Regions from separate parts of the Homo sapiens genome. Here region 2 is linked to region 1. Evidence: promoter capture Hi-C in human tissues and cell types (Jung and others, 2019). All regions are on one chromosome and are shown on one strand. Each heading gives the region's core, a stretch centred on a gene start or on the middle of the fragment in contact. The rest is flanking DNA. Distances are from core to core; before and after follow the strand shown. Region 1 holds the start of CLEC2A (C-type lectin domain family 2 member A). Region 2 has its middle 31 kb from the start of CD69.

Evidence for each region. Contacts are between HindIII fragments. The study calls those that stand out against the background at their distance.
Region 2: a fragment that was not itself captured here is called in contact with the fragment with the promoter of CLEC2A in region 1 in 1 of the 25 tissues and cell types used here (mesenchymal stem cells).

What each region holds. Positions count from the first base shown.
Region 1 is chr12:9,930,356-9,934,745 of GRCh38, forward strand. CLEC2A (C-type lectin domain family 2 member A) reads right to left here and starts at 2,015. Exons shown (of 5, transcript NM_001130711.2): 1 at 1,920-2,015. The coding sequence starts at 1,974. The HindIII fragment of the contact is 8,050 bases long and covers 1-3,184 here.
Region 2 is chr12:9,789,852-9,794,241 of GRCh38, forward strand. No RefSeq gene overlaps it. Among named protein-coding and RNA genes, the nearest start is that of CD69, 31 kb to the left of the region's middle. The HindIII fragment of the contact is 3,981 bases long and covers 198-4,178 here.

The DNA.
Region 1 (4,390 bases), core at 765-3,264:
CCCATAATAATTGATGAATTATTTCCATAATGTTTTATTAAATTTTAATATTTGTGGTTTTTGTGATTATTTGTACTTTTTTGATATTTTCTTTATTGTATCGTCTTCTGCAAACTTTTAGACATCTAGTTCTCTCGTCTTTTCTAATAGCCACCATTTGATTTGTTATCCCTCTCATTTCTTCTCTTTTTCACTAACGTCTCCTATTATCTCATTTTTTAATTTTGTATATTTTTCTTTCACTCTATTGTGCCAGATGCATGTTTTTTTCTTATCTATTTTGTTTGTACACTTTTGAAGTTTCAGTTTGAGGTATTTGGCTTTTATTAGTTTTAGAAGTTGGAATATTATTTCTTCAAATATTTCCTATCCGCTATTCTTTTTTTCTCTCTCTCTGTTTCAGATTCTTGTTATCTAGAAGGTGGCATTTCTACTTCTATTTTTCATATCTCTCAGCTTTTATTTTATATTTTCTAACTGTTTTCTTTTCTGTCATGTTTTTAATAGCATCTCCTAGGTCTTATTCATTCTTAATCAGCGTCCATTCTATTAATTAACTCCTCAAAGTGTTCTTTATTTCAAACACTATATTTCTATAATTATTATTTTCACTTGGTTTTTATTGTGTTCTTGGTGCTTCTTCATTTCATTAATATCTTTTCTTTTGGAGCATTTTTATTATGCTTTAATTAAATTCTCAGACTAGATGTTCTAATGATTCCTGCAGCCCGGCTTTCTCATAATCTTCCAGTACATGCTTCACAGTACTTCATATTTTGTCTTCTCGTTATGCAATGAGATAAATTTTCTTCCACTTTTTACTCTCTAAACTCTTAAATCTGTTACCCAGACAAGCCTGACTAATTTATTTGGCTAAAGGGATGGAATCTTATTTCTTTTTGTAATACTAATGTCCAATTGTGTAAAATGTAGACTAATTTTTAAAAATTTTCTTATGAAGTTTTCATAGATCAAGAGTTCGTAACTATGACCAATAGTTAGAATATACAACGAAGTAAATTTAACCTTACCCTAAAGAAACTTCTAAATAGAACATCCTTAAATTAAAATGGAAAGTCTTCTAAGACAGAGAGATATTATCACTGAAAACATTCTAGTATAGGCTGCTAGAAATGCTGTAGCTAGAAATCGTATGGTAGATGAAAAGTTTTACTAGGTAGCTACTGAGGTCTCTTCAACCTTTAAGAGTATCAGGCTTACTTATTATTAAAAGAATTATCCCAATTGCCCTGGGAATTCATATCAGTAAACTCTGATAGTGGTTTCAGCTGGAGTCCTTAACTCATTTCAAGATTTTACTTTTTATCTCTTCACTGTCTTTATCTTAAAGTTTTGGCAGGCTTCCTATTCCAGTCATTTGGCATACAATTCATTCGTTTTCTTTAACATAAACCCTCAGAACTATTGTGAATGGAGGGTGTTTGTATGTGTACCTTGTTTTTATTTATTGGTTTGTTTATGTTTCAATCCACTGAAAACAAACTTCATTGTTGGCCTTAGCTGAATCTTAAAATTTTTGAAAAGTTCTTTTCAGTCTTATGAAGTCACAATCATCAAGCCTCCTTCCAGAGTGAAGCATTTGCTTTTTATTCTGTATAAAAGTGTTAAGCAATTTTTTCCCTGTGAAAGTACATTTTAAAAATATTCTTATTGAGATATAATACACGTACCATAAAATTCTGCCCCAAAACCTTCTTACACACAAGCTTATACCCTCTCTTGCAGACATAAAACTCTACATGCTCTAACAGGCTTCCACAATTCTCCGGAAGTGCTTCCCCATCCCTCACTTACTTTAGTAGACTTTCACAGTAAGTAAAGAGTCCATATTTTTAAGCTGTCCTGTATTTTGTTTTATCTTTCCTTTACTTCCTTCTCATTCACTCTATAAAACTTACCTATCCGATGTATGAAGCCATCAGCTCTGCCATCCCGCAGCTCTGGATTAATCATGGCAAGGCGCTAACCGATGGAGATCAGTAGGAGAGGACTAGAAAGCTTTTCATGTACATCACTTATTTAGGCACTGAGCAAGCTTCAGTCAAAAGAGACTTAACCAATCCAAATGGAAAACATCAGTACTAATTTTAGATCAAAGATAAAAGTAGGCAGACTTGTTAGTTTAAGGAAGGAATTTAAAAATTAACTCATCCATAACAAAAGGATCGTAAAGTCAATCATGTAAACACCACAACAACCGTGCTATGGAACATTTCCATCATCTTTCTTTTTTTCCTTGTGTAATCACTATCTTTTCTGACCCTGGACCCTGGCAAGCATTACTTTGCTTTATATCAACATAGTTTTTCCTTTCATGGAATTTTTTTTTTTTGAGGCAGGGTCTCACTGTGTTGCCCAGGCTGGAGTGCAGTGGGGAAAACTTGGCCCATTGCAACTTTGACCTCCTTGGCTCAAGCAATCCTCCTGCCCTACCCACCCAAGTAGCTGGGACTACAGTCGCGCACCATCATGCCCTGCTAATTTTATTTTTTGTAGAGACTAGGTCTCATTATATTGCCCAGACTGGTCTTGAACTCCTGGGCTTAAGTGATCTTCTGGCTTCAGTCACCCAAAGTACTGGGATTACAGGCATGAGCCACCACGGCCAGCCCCTTTCATAGAATTTTATATAAATGGTATCATATAATATGTAGTGTCTTGTCTCTTGCTTATTTCATTTATAATACTTTTGAGATTCACTCAAGTTGTTGTGCAGGTAAGTAGTTCATTCCCTTTTATTTCTTAGTAGTATTCCTATTGCATGTTATACCAGAAATTATCTCTTTGATCACTAGTTGATGGACTTTTGTTTCTAGGGTGGGACTGTTATGTATGAAACTGCTGTACACAGGCATTTTTGTGTGAGCAAGTTTTCTCTTGGATAAATTCCCAGAAATTGAATTGCTGCATCATATAAGTATGTTTATCTTTATAAAAAGCTGTAAAACTGGCTGGGCGCGGTGTCTGTCACCTGTAATCCCAGCACTTGGGGAGGCCGAGGCGGGTGGATCATGAGGTCAGGAGATCGAGACTATCCTGGCTAACACAATGAAACCCCGTCTCTACTAAAAATACAAAAAATTAGCCGGGCCTGGTGGCGGGTACCTGTAGTCCCAGCTACTCGAGAGGCTGAGGCAGGAGAATGGTGTGAACCCGGGAGGCGGAGCTTGCAGTGAGCCGAGATCGTGCCACTGCACTCCAGCCTGGGCAACTGAGCAAGACTCCGTCTCAAAAAAAAAAAAAAAAAATTTGCTTCAGCCTGGAATCTTTGCTTTTGGTGCTTCGGTGCAGAGACAGAAAACGGGCACTCAGAGTCACACTGGTAGTTGCACACTGTATCTGCAGAGGGCGTGTCTCATCTGTACCCCGCTGGGTTACGGGATTTCAGGAGGTATTTTTGTCCACCTGCGAATTCCATTTATTACCTTTCATTTAACAGACAATGTCTTTCCTTTCTGCAGTTGATTTTGCTAAAGAGGCAATTCATAAGGTGAGGTCCTACTCATAGTATGACTTGCTTTCTCACGACCTCCTTCCATTTTTAGTAACTCCCTGGTCTATTTGGTGTCTGTAAAAAAAGAATCTGGTAATGGAGACTTCTTTTAATATGGAAATTTGGCCTGGCAATAACTTATTCCTTTCCACATGTAACTGACCCAATCTGGTTTCCAGATGACAAGTATGCAAGCCCCAGATGTTGAGAAGCCATATTTCAACTGCTTCCTGCATCTGTTGAAATATAATTGTTCATACTTGCCATCCCTTATGTTTCTTGTAACAATTTGCACAGTTCTTGCCAGAATAAATGCCATTCTCTGTATGCTTCAGAGAATTCCGCAATTTGATCAGTGTGTGTGTGTGTGTGTGTGTGTGTGACCTTCCGTAAAACACTTCTAAAGGGTGAAAGCTCTTGTATGGCATAGACATGAATTCCTTCCTCTGGTAATAATTAGGTTATTTCCAGAAGCACAGTGTCATTTTTTTTTTTTTTTTGAGATGGAGTTTCTCTCCTGTGGCCCAGGCTGGAATGCAATGGTGTGATCTCGGCTCACGCAACTTCCACCTCCTGGGTTCAAGTGATTCTCCTGCCTCAGCCTCCTGAGTAGCTGGGATTATGGGCATGCACCACCATGCCTGCCTAATTTTGTATTTTTAGTAGAGACGAGGCTTCTCCATGTTGGTCCAGCTGGTCTCGAACTCCTGACCTCAGGTTATCCACCCGCCTCGGCCTCCCAAAGTGCTGGGATTACAGGTGTGAGCCACCATGCCCAGCCCATTCTTTAAATAAAAGCTTTCCTGTTTAAGGCTTTTCAAAGGAGCAGACCACTTTGAAGATTCTCCCTAGGGTTGATATGTGTCTAATTCATTT
Region 2 (4,390 bases), core at 938-3,437, 140 kb before region 1:
ATATAGTGAGGCATAGGGATACAGTTTCTTTCTTCTACATGTGGCTGTCCAGTTTTTCCAGCACCATTTATTGAATTATTTCCCCAATCTACGTACATTTTGTCAAAGATCAGTTGGTTATAAGTATTTGGCTTAATTTCTGGGTTATCTATCTATCCTGTTCCATTGGCTTACGTATTTAATTTTATACCAGTACCATGCTGTTTTGTTTATGATAGCCTTGTAGTATAATTTGAAGTCAGGTAATGTGATGCCTCCAGATTTGTTCTTTTTACTTAGGATTGCTTTGGCTATTCAGGCTCTTTTTTTGGTTCCATATGAATTTTAGAATTGTTTTCTGTAGTTCTGTGAAAAATGATGTTGATATTTTCATGGGAATTGCATTGAATCAGTAGATTGCTTTGGGCAGTGTGGTCATTTTCATGATATTGATGATCATATTATTATAGAAATTATTAAGAAATTATTTCAGGCAGATAGGATAAGTGGTCCTTGGTAAGGTTTTTTTCTTTAAATAAAAGCAGCTCCAGAAACATTTCTTTTTTAGCAAAAAAATGGCTTGAAGGGCCAAGCCAGCAAGCTTTGATATGCAAATGCTGGCTATTAGAAGCTGGGTCCATCCAATATGGCAAGTCCCACCTTCTTCTCCTTGTCACCACATGTGCCAAGCATCATGGCACCCCCAGAGGTCTCCACTGTGCAGAAAATCATGGCGGCCTGCATTTGCATATTAAAAGACTAGGGTGGGAGAGCCAGTTTTTTTGCAGGCTATGTGAATGACATACTAAGTCAAACCAATCCCCTGGGCCTATAAAAATCAGACACCACCTCCTCCAGCCTTCTAATATAACAGATTGTTTCCACCATACTTGGGGTTTCCTCTCTCTGCTTGGAGCCACCCCCACCCCTCACCGACCCCCCGTCTCTGTAGCTGGGAGCTTCTTCTTTCTTTCTTGCCTATTAAACTCTCTGTTCCTTAAAACCACTCCATGTGTGTCCATGTTGTCTTATCTAAATTGGCGTGAGACAAAGGACTCTGGTGTTCCTCCATTCATTGAAGCTGTATCAATATTTTGTATCATTTCAATGAACTACTATAGGCAGCCCATCCCTTAAGTTTCCCTCTTAAGTTTTTTGGTCAGCTTTTCCTTTGCCCCAGCTGTTATTCCATATTAAGCAGCTGCAATGTACAGCAATAGGTGCTGATTGTTTTTGTCAAATACCCCTAGGGAAAAAGTCATTTGCACTGAGCGAGCTCTGTTTGAGATCAACTAAAGTCGTAGGTGGGAATTTCCAAGATCATGTTTGATAGTTTGAATAATGACAGTACTCTAAGAATAATTTTTGGGACTTCTAAACCCTTTATGGCCCCTCTGAGACCTGTTGGGCTACAGTTCACTACTGCTACTATAGTTGTAAGACCTACTATAGTTTTTCAAGGCTACTGTGAAGCTGAGGAATACGGAATAGGAATAGAGCAAGTTAAATCTCCACAAAGGTCACTGTTTTCAATTAAATTCACCTATTTTCTTGAGTAAATGCTTGCCAGATTTTTGCAAGTCTTTGGTTAATTCACAGTATTCTGAGGAAGTTTGTTTTGACAGTTTTTGTCAATGTTCTTGTTGATTTTATGAAGGAATAGCTTTTTGTAGGTCTTTATTCCACTGTTTCTGCTCATGTCTGGCAAGACAATTAAGCAGGTAATTATGAGGGCATGTAGAACACATCTTGGAGAATTTATTCTCAAGGTGGCATTCTATAAAATTATGTAAATATTTAATCTGAGAAGTGAAAGATGAGACAGTTTTCCAGGTGAATAAGGCAGAGGAAAAACAACAACAACAACAACTTTGTAGACAAGGGTAAAATGTACAAGTCTTAGAGATGGGAGAAAGAATGGTCCACTACAGTGAGACTGAAGAATGGAACAAGAGACAAAGCCAGATTACAGGGTGAAATCAATGCTGTTAAATAGTCTGGAATTATTCTAAGTGCAGAAAGAAAGTAATAAATTCTTATAAATTTGGGACAAATTGCAATTAGATATTAATTTTTGGAAGTTAACAGGTGCAATTTTTGGAAGTTACTCAGTCTAACAGGTGCAAGATGAACTGGAATAAAGGGATACCATAGAGAGATGACTGCCTTTAAGACCAATGCAGTGGAAGTAGAGATGATGGAAAGTTGTTGAATTAAAGACATTACTAGTCATTACAGTCTATGATTTATTAGGTAGGGTCATTTAATCAGAAAAAAATGCAGACAGAGAGTCAAGGATGGCCTTCATGCTTTGATTCCTAAAACTGTGGGCAGTATTCTTTCAAATGAGTCAGAAATTAGGGGGTAAAATTAGATTTAGAAAAGAATCAAAATGATCACTTTTGTTTCTGGAATATGTGGGAGATTGAGTTGGATATTTTAATGGACTTTTGGATATATGCTGCTAGCCCTAAGCAAAGGAGTCTGATCAGGAAAATTTATCTATCTATCTATCTATCTATCTATCTATCTATCTATCTATCCATCTATCTATCTATCTATCTGCATATATGTGTGTATATATGTATATATATGTGTGTGTGTGTGTGTATATATATATATATGTCTTCCTTATCTTTTGATTTAAAAACTGGTTTTCCATTTACAATGGGTGCAATGGTGTGTCTCCACTTTGGACTGAAGCCTCATTGTCTCAGCACCTGGGAGTCAGAAGCTTTCAACTGAATCTTCCTTGTATGGCTCTCAGCTAAACAGAAGTGCCTTCTCAAAGTCACACTTTCTCCCAGTGCCAGATGTATCAAACGGCTGGTTCGTGTGGGAGTATAAAAGCTTGGACTTGTTGCCTTATATCAAGATAAACTTGAAAGGGCACTCACCTCCAGAGCTCCCTATACTGTTAGCTGAAGCCTTTGTGTTACTGCATCACAATTCAATATCTGCCTTTGCCCAATCCTTTCTTTCTCATCCACAGGTACTTAACATCCTTTATGTAATCCTTCATCTGAGAGTCTGTTTTTGAGGAACCTGACCTGTAACACAGCCTGAAGAAATTTGGGGACAAATCCTAGCAAAAAATTGGGATATCATTCTTGATGTATTTATTTTTTGGATGATACATATCATTTTACTCCCTAAGAGCCATACCAATCAATACTACAAAAGAATGAGCAAACGGAATTTCTCTGCAGCCTGTATCTCAACAAGATCTGCTCCTCCAACTCCTTGCATCTGGCATTTTTTGGGGGATAATCATAAGGAATGTTTTGACTCTCTGATAAACACACAGAAATGAACATTTTGTAGGAAACCATAAACATGAGTCATACAGATAAAAAGCAAACATAGTTCTATTTACTGTCATCAGAGTATGTAGATCAATATTTTATTGCATTGGAAGCTTCATCTGCCATTTTTAAAGTAATCATTTCAACCAGGAGGATGGTATATTCTGACTGAAAACCTCCCAGGACCATATTATGTAGGCAAATGATTTTTTCCAAAGAAATAGACAGGAAAGTGGCTGTAAAGACAAAATGTATACCTTTGACTATAGTGGCTAAGGCCGTATCTCTGTGTTTTTTCCATTGACCACATGGTTGGTTTGAGTCATAGGTGTACTGAGTCAAATGGAATTGAATGATAAAATCAAGGAGCACTTTGTATCCAGAAGTACAGCAGAACATATCAAATATTAAATTGATGCATAAAATAGGAAATATCTTTGTTTACCTACATGTTAATACTAAAAAGTACTATTGCCCCATGCTTCACGATGAATATCAGGAAAGTAAGAACCATGGGAGATAAAAAATGAATTAACATAGTCTCCGACCTGTGTGTCTACAGTTGAATTTTATACATATAAGCCTTATAAATAAAGCATTTTACCTGCAAAAAAAGTGATCATAAAATAATATGATTACACAATTACACAAGGTGATAAAAGGAAAAGTTCTAATAAAGGGGCTAAGGAGCCGTGTGATAAACCAGTTGTAGGAAATATACTTCTCAGTCTTGCTTTGGATGTTGGAACGGTTTTTGAATGTCCTGGTTTTAGGAAAACTCACCTTCTACCTTTCTTCGAAACTTCAGAATTCATTTGCAACCAAATAAGGAAGTAACTCCTACGCATCTGTTTCCTATACACGTTTCTCTTCATTTCACCACAAAACTATGTAATTTATAGGAAGTCAATTTAACTTCTTTTCTTAGAAACAAGAAGTTACAAATTTCAAGGGTATTTTTGGAGGTATTGGCGGTTTACAATTTCATTCAAGGTTATTGTCATAGTTTGTTACACTTTTTAGTATAAGAAAAGCCTAATACAAAATATGTCAAACTAGCAAATAATTGAATTAATTTAAAAGAAGATAAAATGAGAACATTAATA